2 separate regions of the Homo sapiens genome follow, and region 1 is linked to region 2. Evidence: promoter capture Hi-C in 16 types of primary human blood cells and fetal thymus (Javierre and others, 2016). All regions are on one chromosome and are shown on one strand. The core of a region is centred on a gene start or on the middle of the fragment in contact, and the rest is flanking DNA. Distances in the headings are between cores, read along the strand shown.

Region 1 (4,027 bases), core at 306-2,805, 270 kb after region 2:
ACCAGTGAAATTCAGATGACCCTTCTAGAGAGGCTGTGGGCAGCCAAGGCCCCAGGTGTGGACAGGGCTGCTGCTCTCCAGGTGCTGGGGGCCCCAGCATGTCTCTTCCTACAGCTCCATGTGCCTTTGCCACGGAGCCACCGGCATTCAGTGGCCTCTTCCCCACTTGGCTGCTATGTGTCCCCTGGAACTCAGGGCACTCCAGGTGTCCTCAGGTCATGTCTCAGAGCTCAGGGCCATCTCGCCAGGCAGGGAAGTCCAGATTCCAATTTTTTCTACCCCACACCTAATCTCTAACAGCAGGCTCTGAACACACAGGAATCAGTTGGTGGCTTCTAAAGAGAACATGATACCGTCATGTAGCTGCCTGTCCAGACGCTGAAGCCTGTGCTTTCACCGGACCCTAGTGCTTGTGAATGACGACCTCTGTTCTCCTGGGTCAAAACTTCCTTCACCACCGTCAAGAAGGCCACCCTTTGTCGGCGGGTTAAATGCAGTGTTATTTACATATGGTTTATCTGGGCATCTATAATCCCAGGGCGAGAGCCCACCATCCACCAGCATTTTGGAAGAACGCCTGAGACCTGAGACCTGAGACCTGGTGCAATGGAATCAGATTCCCTGGTAGCTGCTTTTAATGGTGACAGATTCTCTGAAACAGAAAAAGATTGAATTGAGTCTGTCTCCCTGGAGTCGTCCTGCTCTGGGAGATGCAGAGGGAGGGCGGCAGGAGGGAGGACAGTGGGAGGCCTCTGTTGGTCAATTGCTAGGCTGCTGTCACCAGATGGTGGATGGCGTTTGTACAGCACTGGCCAAGGGCCCAGCTCAGCAGGGCCAGAGCCTCAGGTCATGTCGCAGGTGAGCAAAGCAGCGTGGATGGAAGACGAAGATCTTCGTCCCACGGAGGGCTTGCTGTGCGCCCCGCAGGACGCAGATCACCGGGAAGAGCAGGAAGCAGAAGCGCAGGAAAGCCAATGCTGTGACTGAGGCGTGGCCAGCAAGCCAGGCCCTCCAGCCACACCCTGCTCCAAAGGGGCTCCGACAGGATGGACTGATGATTTCCAAGAGAGAACATGCTTTTTATCTTCTATGGAATTTTGCTACCAAAGAGCCTCCCAGCTACCTGTGCCCTTCCCTAACCTGACAATCTTAATTCCCCCATGAAACTCCTCCATCGCGGACATTTGGACAACTCCAGGCTGAGTTTTTCCTAAGGCCACTCTGGCCTTGTGCGTCTCTTCTTTGCTAAGCTGTGTGCCAGCCGCCAGCCCACATCTGGGTTGTACCATGATCCTAACTCCTCACCTGAACACAGCATTTAACAGACTGAAACGTGCCACTCTGGAGCTGGGGACTTCAAGCCACATTTCGCCTGCAGCCCGATCGCCTTCAATCTTTAGCAAAATCCTCTTTCTCATGCAAAACAGTGCAGTCGTAACTTTTAAAATATTTTTTAGAAACTTTCTCTAGAGCCTCCACCACATGGCCACAGCCTGAGACTTTGAAATAATGAAACAATTAAATGATGTTTTCATCATTTCTGAGACTTGCCCATTATCACGAAGCTGAAATGGCCATTTTTTTATAAGTCAAGGAAGGACAGGCAGTTTCAAATGAGTTGGCTAAGACATACGCCAAATTCATAGAAAATAGAAATGAACTATGACTACAGAATGGAAGCAACCACAGAAATATTAGCAGGATTTTAAGTATTATCCCAATCAAGTACTAATAGCTAAGTGAGGTCATTTTTTGGATACCATTCCTGGTCAAAGCTAGGAATGATGTGTGTTCCAGGCTGGACCCTCCAGGCAGAGGCACCGGGATCCCACGCTGTTTCTGGGTTGGCCATTAACCTGCCCCTTGACCTGACAGCGTTTCTCTCTCTTCTCTCTCTACACTTCTCTTCTGATCTTTAGATCGATTTTCCTCCAAGTGACAATGTCCATAAAGAGAGAGGGAGGTGGAAATACAGGCTGTCACATTTCAGCTCTTTGAGGTGCCTCTAAAGATGATGTCAGAGAACAGTAAGTGGCCCACAAATGTGCAGCATCTGTTCCGAGCCTCCTGAAGCCGCCCGGACAGGCAGCAGTACGACCCTGCAAGGCCACAGGGGAGCCAGGGGGTTCTCGCTTTCTTTTTCTTTTAATTATTTCCTCTCAAAAAAGAAAAAAAAAAAAGAAAAGAAAGAAAAAAAGCCCTGCTGGGATAGAACTTATTGAGTTCAGAATGTTCCAGGGCACATAATCAGGCTGCCCTTGTTCCAAGACACTGCTGTGCTCTGTAGCTGACCCCCGAGTCCTCTAGGGCAAGAGTAAGGACACAGTCGGCTCCCGAAAGCTGGTGCAGATGGACCCCACCACGCAGGGCCTGGAGTTGGGCCAGACCTGCAGACCCCCTTGATGGCCTGCGGCAGGACCCTTCACCTGGGTCAAGGCCTCCTGGTGCTCCTAGGGGCCTCTTGAGGAGCCTGGGCACCAGCATTTGCCTTTGAGGACAGGACTGAGGGCCTGCATTTTGCACGAATGTACCTGAAATGTTTGCTCTGGATTTACCTTTCCAATGGTGCCTATGCAGGAATCCCAAAGAATGCCTGGTGGGGTCTGAGGCGGGTCTCAGGCCGGGAGCCCTCCACAGGCAGCAATATTTGGCTAGAATTTAATGCCATTTTGTTTCTTTTTATCTATTTTTATGGTGACCTCTTTGTGGTAATTGACACTGACTTTTTAAAAAATAAACTTACCCTTTTAATCAAATGTGTGAATTGTTTAAAGGAAAAACATTGTGTAAATAATGTTTTCAGGGGGTAGAATCCAGACGTGAGTTTTGGAAACAGAGTCCAGTCCTGCTTCTGACATTTGAATTGCTTCTCCAGCATCATCACCAGAAGATGGGCTACCTGTGCTCACAAGCCTCCTGTAACACGGAGCTCACCACCTCTCAAAGGCACCTTCTGTCAGGTCTGCCTGGAAATGCTGCTCCCGCAGACTCCGCACCTGAGGCCAGGTCTGCAGCGAAGCTCATCCACACCTGAGGCCAGGTCTGCAGCGAAGCTCAGCCCCCTTCCTTCACAGGAGAAATACTTCTGGGTGTGCACCTTCCACTCCTGGCAGGGCCGTGAGCCCCTGTGGCAGTGCCTCACCCTCTGGGAGGGACCCTCTCCATCTGGGAACAATGTGGGTACTTTTTTCTCTTAAAGGGCAGTGTCAGGAATGAAAGCAGATACCCAAAAGCAGTGGGTCTCGTGGCCTCGTGTCTGCTTCCAGAAGTGGAGGGCGGCCTGGGACGGCGGGAGCCCTGAGGACACCACCGGGGGGGTCCCGGGACCTGATACGAGTGGGCAGGAGCCCCAAGCCCTGGAGGAAGGAAAACCATTTCATAAATAACTGCATGGGGTTGTGGGCCTTTTCTCACAAGCCGCAGCACCTCCTTCGTCTCTCCACGGTGAACCCGCCCGCCACGCTATGCCACCAGGCCAGGTCCTGCAGCACCGCCTCCGTGGCTAGGACTTCCTCACCAGCCTGGGGCCGTGAGGTGGTCATTTCCCCCCTTACCTGACTTATCTCAGGATTCACACACACACACTTGACTTTCGGAAACTTCTTTTAAATTAATTTCACTGACACTAAAAGGGAAGCTTTGTGGAGTGTGATTGTGGTTACCTGTTAATACTTGGCAACAATTATGAGCCCTGATATGAGCCAACTTCTTCCGTCTTATCCCCTTTGAGGACGCTCTGTTATCGCCCCCATTTTGCAAACGAGGAAACTGAGGCTCGGAGGCCTGGAGCAATGTGTTCCAGGACAGACGGCAGGAAGCCGGGGTAGGAATTCCAACAGGGAGTTCCCTCTGTGGAAGGGAACGTGGCTGGCACCTCCCTGCCTTCCACCCTCAGAGCTAGTGTGAAAAAGAAGACGGGGTTATGGAAAAGGCAACGGGCTGGAGATTCCCCGGATTCCCAGGCTAGGGCGCCGGTCTCACTGTGCGCGCAGGTGGGGCGCGTGCCAGAACAGGGCCTGGGGGTCAG
Region 2 (3,513 bases), core at 239-2,738:
GTGCTGGGCTTAAGGAGAGAACGGTGAGCCCAGAAGCCTGGGGAGGCTCCTTCCCCCTCCACCAGGGCCAAGGGGGTGGGGCAGGCAGAGGGGGCGGGCCCAGCCCAGGCTCCTCCATTCATCCCCATAACGTCTTGCTCCAGGGCCCTCTGCCCCCACCCAGCAAATCTCCAGCTACTCGCCCCTGCCCCAGCCTCTCCTTCCGGGAAGGCAGAGGTACCAGGGAGGAGACAGCTCAGGTTACACAGGCCCTCAGGGCCCCTAGACTCTCCCTAAGGTGGGGCTGAGGTGGGGAATGGGCCTAGAGCGGCCGGTTGGGAGCCGTTGGAGCTGACTTTGCTGCTCCTCACCCAAGGCTGACCCCAGGCCCAACCTAAGTCTACAGGGCCCCAAGAGCCTTGGTTTTCAGGTGAGGTGTCCATGCATGGAGTCCACCAACAGAACCCGCCTACAGGTTTAAGGCTTGTTGGGGAGGGGACATGCACCCCAGGGGGTCTTCAGGGCCTGAACCCACATCTCCCAGGGAGACTGAAGCCCCCGGACCCTACCACCTGCTGGGCAGAGATGCTGCCCCTCCTGGGAGCCACGTGTTCCCAGCCCCAGTCAAAACTTCGCAGCTGGCCCTCCCCTACTTTGGAGGTCTCCTCGAGTCCCTAGACTCCTCCGAGAGGGGCTAGTGGGAGCCTCAGGTGGCTGGCCCCTCCCACCCCATCCAGAGGCCAACAGGTTCCAGCCTGTCCCGGGTAGGGCGGAGCTGCGCCCCCTCCCCACCGGCAGCAGGCGGCGGAGGCCAAGTCCCGCCCTCCCCGGGATCCCGGACTTGGGGCCGCCAGGGACTGGGCCCGGCCCCCCTCCCGCCCCGGTCACCGCAGTCGAACTGGACCGGCGCCCAGCCGCCCCCGGGTCCATGCCGGGGACTTTAATTCCGCCTTCCCGGAGGGACGCGAAGTTTCCCGGCCGAGACGGAGCGGCCGGGTCGGGGTGCCTTCTTGGGCCCCCAAAATGCGGAACCAGAGAGTCCGCACCTGGACTCGCCCCGGGCCACGGCGCTCCCCCTGGGGTCGGGCCGGTGTTCCGGGTCCGAGTGCCCCGGGAGGAAGCCCCACGGCCCGCCCCTGCGCTCACCCGGATGGTCTGGTTGGGGTCGCCGCCGGCCACGGGGCCCCCTACCAGCTTGCAGTAAAGGTCCTCGGTGGGGCGCGGGGAGCCGCGCGCCGGGGCCTCCTCTCCGCAGGTCGCGGAGGCGGCGATGCGGGCGCCCTCGGCCAGGTTGAAGTAGGGCGGGTGCAGGCTGAAGCCGCCGCCCGCCTCCTCCCGCGCCCGCGCCGCGCCCAGCAGCGCCAGCCCGACCAGCAGCAGCGGCGCGGGGCCCCGGGGGCCGCGAACACACAGTGCGCTCCCCGCGCAGAGCCGCTTCGCCATCTTCCCGGCTCCGGGCCGCGTCCCCGAGCTCCAGGGACAGCGCGCGCGGCGGGAGCCCGGCGGGTCTGAAGCCAGGCGGCCGGCAGGGCTCGCTCCGCCCGCGGACGTCAGGCCCCGCCCCGGCCCGCCCGAGCGCCCGAGCCCCGAGCCCCGGGGAGAGGTCCGGGGAGGCGGGGTGGGGGGGGGAAGGAGAGAGGAGGGGGAGGGGCGGCCGGGCGGCCTTAACCCTTCGGACCCCGGCCCGGCCGCCTCCCGGAAGGGGCACCTGCTGGCCTCGGGCCAGGCCGTGGGACGACGGCGCCGCCGGGCCCCCAGCCCAGGTCGTAGCTCCGGGTCCCGGGTGGGACCCTAGCGCTCCCCACGACGCCCTGGCCCCCAGAGCGCCCACCAGCTCCTCCCAGCCCAGGGGCCCACTCTTTGTTCCCCTAACTTGGGTGCACCACTCGGCTGCCCCCGCTCCTCCCCCAACAGCGTCCGTCCTGCTGGCTGCGGGAAGGTGCCCTCTGCACCCGCGAATGACCATCTGCAGAGGAACGGGGCAGCCTAGGTGGGAACCCCCTGCTTCCTGGGGCAGCCAGGTCAGGTTCAACTCGGCCTGGCTCCCGCCTGCCCCAGCAGGGCTTAAAAATACTCTCAGATAGGGAAATAGGGGCAGGAGGGACTGGCCTGCAGCTGCAGCCCCCTTTAGAGGACGGGGGCGGTGCTCATGGCCCCACAGCCGCCAAATTGGCTCTTAAGGAGGTCGGGGGCTCTGGTCACAGCTGCTGAGCACCTGCTGGGTGCCTGGAAGCACCTGTGCTCCGGGGCCCGGTGGACTCCACCAGCTCTCTCGGCCTGGCCTCCAACCCGCTGCACAGCCGCGCACGCGTTCCTGCCACGATCGGCGGCTCGAGGACGCCTGGCAAACAGCACAGGACCTAGAGGCCGAGATCAGGTCTTCGTCTGCCTTTGGGTGGCTGCGGCCCTGGGTCTCCTACTTCCCTTGGGCTCCGGGGCCAAATCTGCCTCCAGGGAAGCCCCGAGGGGGTGGCGGCGGGGTGGGGCTGCAGCTGCCGAGCTGGCAGCAAACCCCCATCCCTGAGCCAGGCCAGCTGGGCGGGCCATGGTCCCAGATGGGCTGTGGGGCTCATCTCTCGCTGGGTTCCCTGGACAGTCCCGGGGGGCTGGGTGGGTTTGTGGGGCACTGGCCAGCCGGTTCTGGTGGGGGTTCTGAGCTAGCAGCTGTCCCTGGAGGGTGCACCTCCTTGCACACCTTCCTGGCGCCCTGGCCTCCTGCAAATCTCAAATCCCAAGAGGGTGTATGGCCCTTTCTCTACGGAGTCGGGAGGGCGATGGGACCCTCTCTCCCTCCTCCTACTTTCCGGCCCGGCAATTCTTCCATAACTTCACTATTAGTTCTCCCACCTGGGGGAGGGGGGAGAGGAGGCGGCTCCCCTTGGCAGGAGAAGCTCCAAGTGGGGGAGGGGCTGGCTGGAGAGGGGGCGGAGACATCAAGGAATCTGCAGTCCAGGCGCAGAGTCCGGCTCTGAGCTGCTTTAGATCCCGTGTGAGGCAGAGAGTGGCCTCTGGGCAGTAGCGGGTCCCCAGGTGGGGGCTTGGCCCCAGGCAGTGTGCTCTGGCTCTGGGCTCCCCCTTGACAGCTTGGGGCTCTGACAGCCTGGGGGACTGGAGGTGGAGACTCCTGAGACCCTGAGGGCTTCTTGGGATCCCTGGAGGGTCGGGTGGTTGGAGGGGTGGGATTGCGAGTGGCGGGGCAGGGGGAGAGGTGGGGGTGGGGAGAGCACTTTAAGCCTCCTAGCGGCCAGATCAGGCCAAGCTGCCAGGCCTCCGCTGTCCCCCGGCACTGGCCAGGAGGGGAGCGGGGGCCGGCCCTGAGAATGCGCTGTGTCAGCCGGAGCTGCCAGCACCAGCAGGGTTAATCACCGGGCTCACTGCTTCCCGGCAGACAGCTGCCCCGGGAGCAACTGGCAGGCAGGCGGGCAGCGCAGTGGACAAGAGAATGTGGCCCAGGGGCTGGGTAAAGAGCCCACACTCTGCCCCCACCCTGTGTCTGCTGGTGCACGGACTGGGAAGGAGGCAGCTGGGGCAGGA

The links. Contacts are between HindIII fragments. The CHiCAGO score rates a contact against its expected background, and 5 or more counts as called.
Region 1: a contact is called between a fragment that was not itself captured here and the fragment with the promoter of LAMA5 in region 2, in 5 of 17 cell types (erythroblasts, M1 macrophages, endothelial precursors and 2 more). The highest score is 7.8, in erythroblasts.

The regions. Positions count from the first base shown.
Region 1 is chr20:62,637,991-62,642,017 of GRCh38, forward strand. LOC124904949 (a long non-coding RNA gene) reads right to left here. Exons shown (of 2, transcript XR_007067711.1): 1 at 3,663-4,027; 2 at 1-3,356. Among named protein-coding and RNA genes, the nearest start is that of SLCO4A1, 2.5 kb to the right of the region's middle. RefSeq lists a silencer at 4,001-4,027. The HindIII fragment of the contact is 4,159 bases long and covers 1-3,635 here.
Region 2 is chr20:62,365,824-62,369,336 of GRCh38, forward strand. It overlaps LAMA5 (laminin subunit alpha 5), which reads right to left and starts at 1,489. Exons shown (of 80, transcript NM_005560.6): 1 at 1,126-1,489. The coding sequence starts at 1,422. RefSeq lists enhancers at 294-993, 3,092-3,513 and a silencer at 1,173-1,612. The HindIII fragment of the contact is 18,996 bases long and covers 1-3,513 here.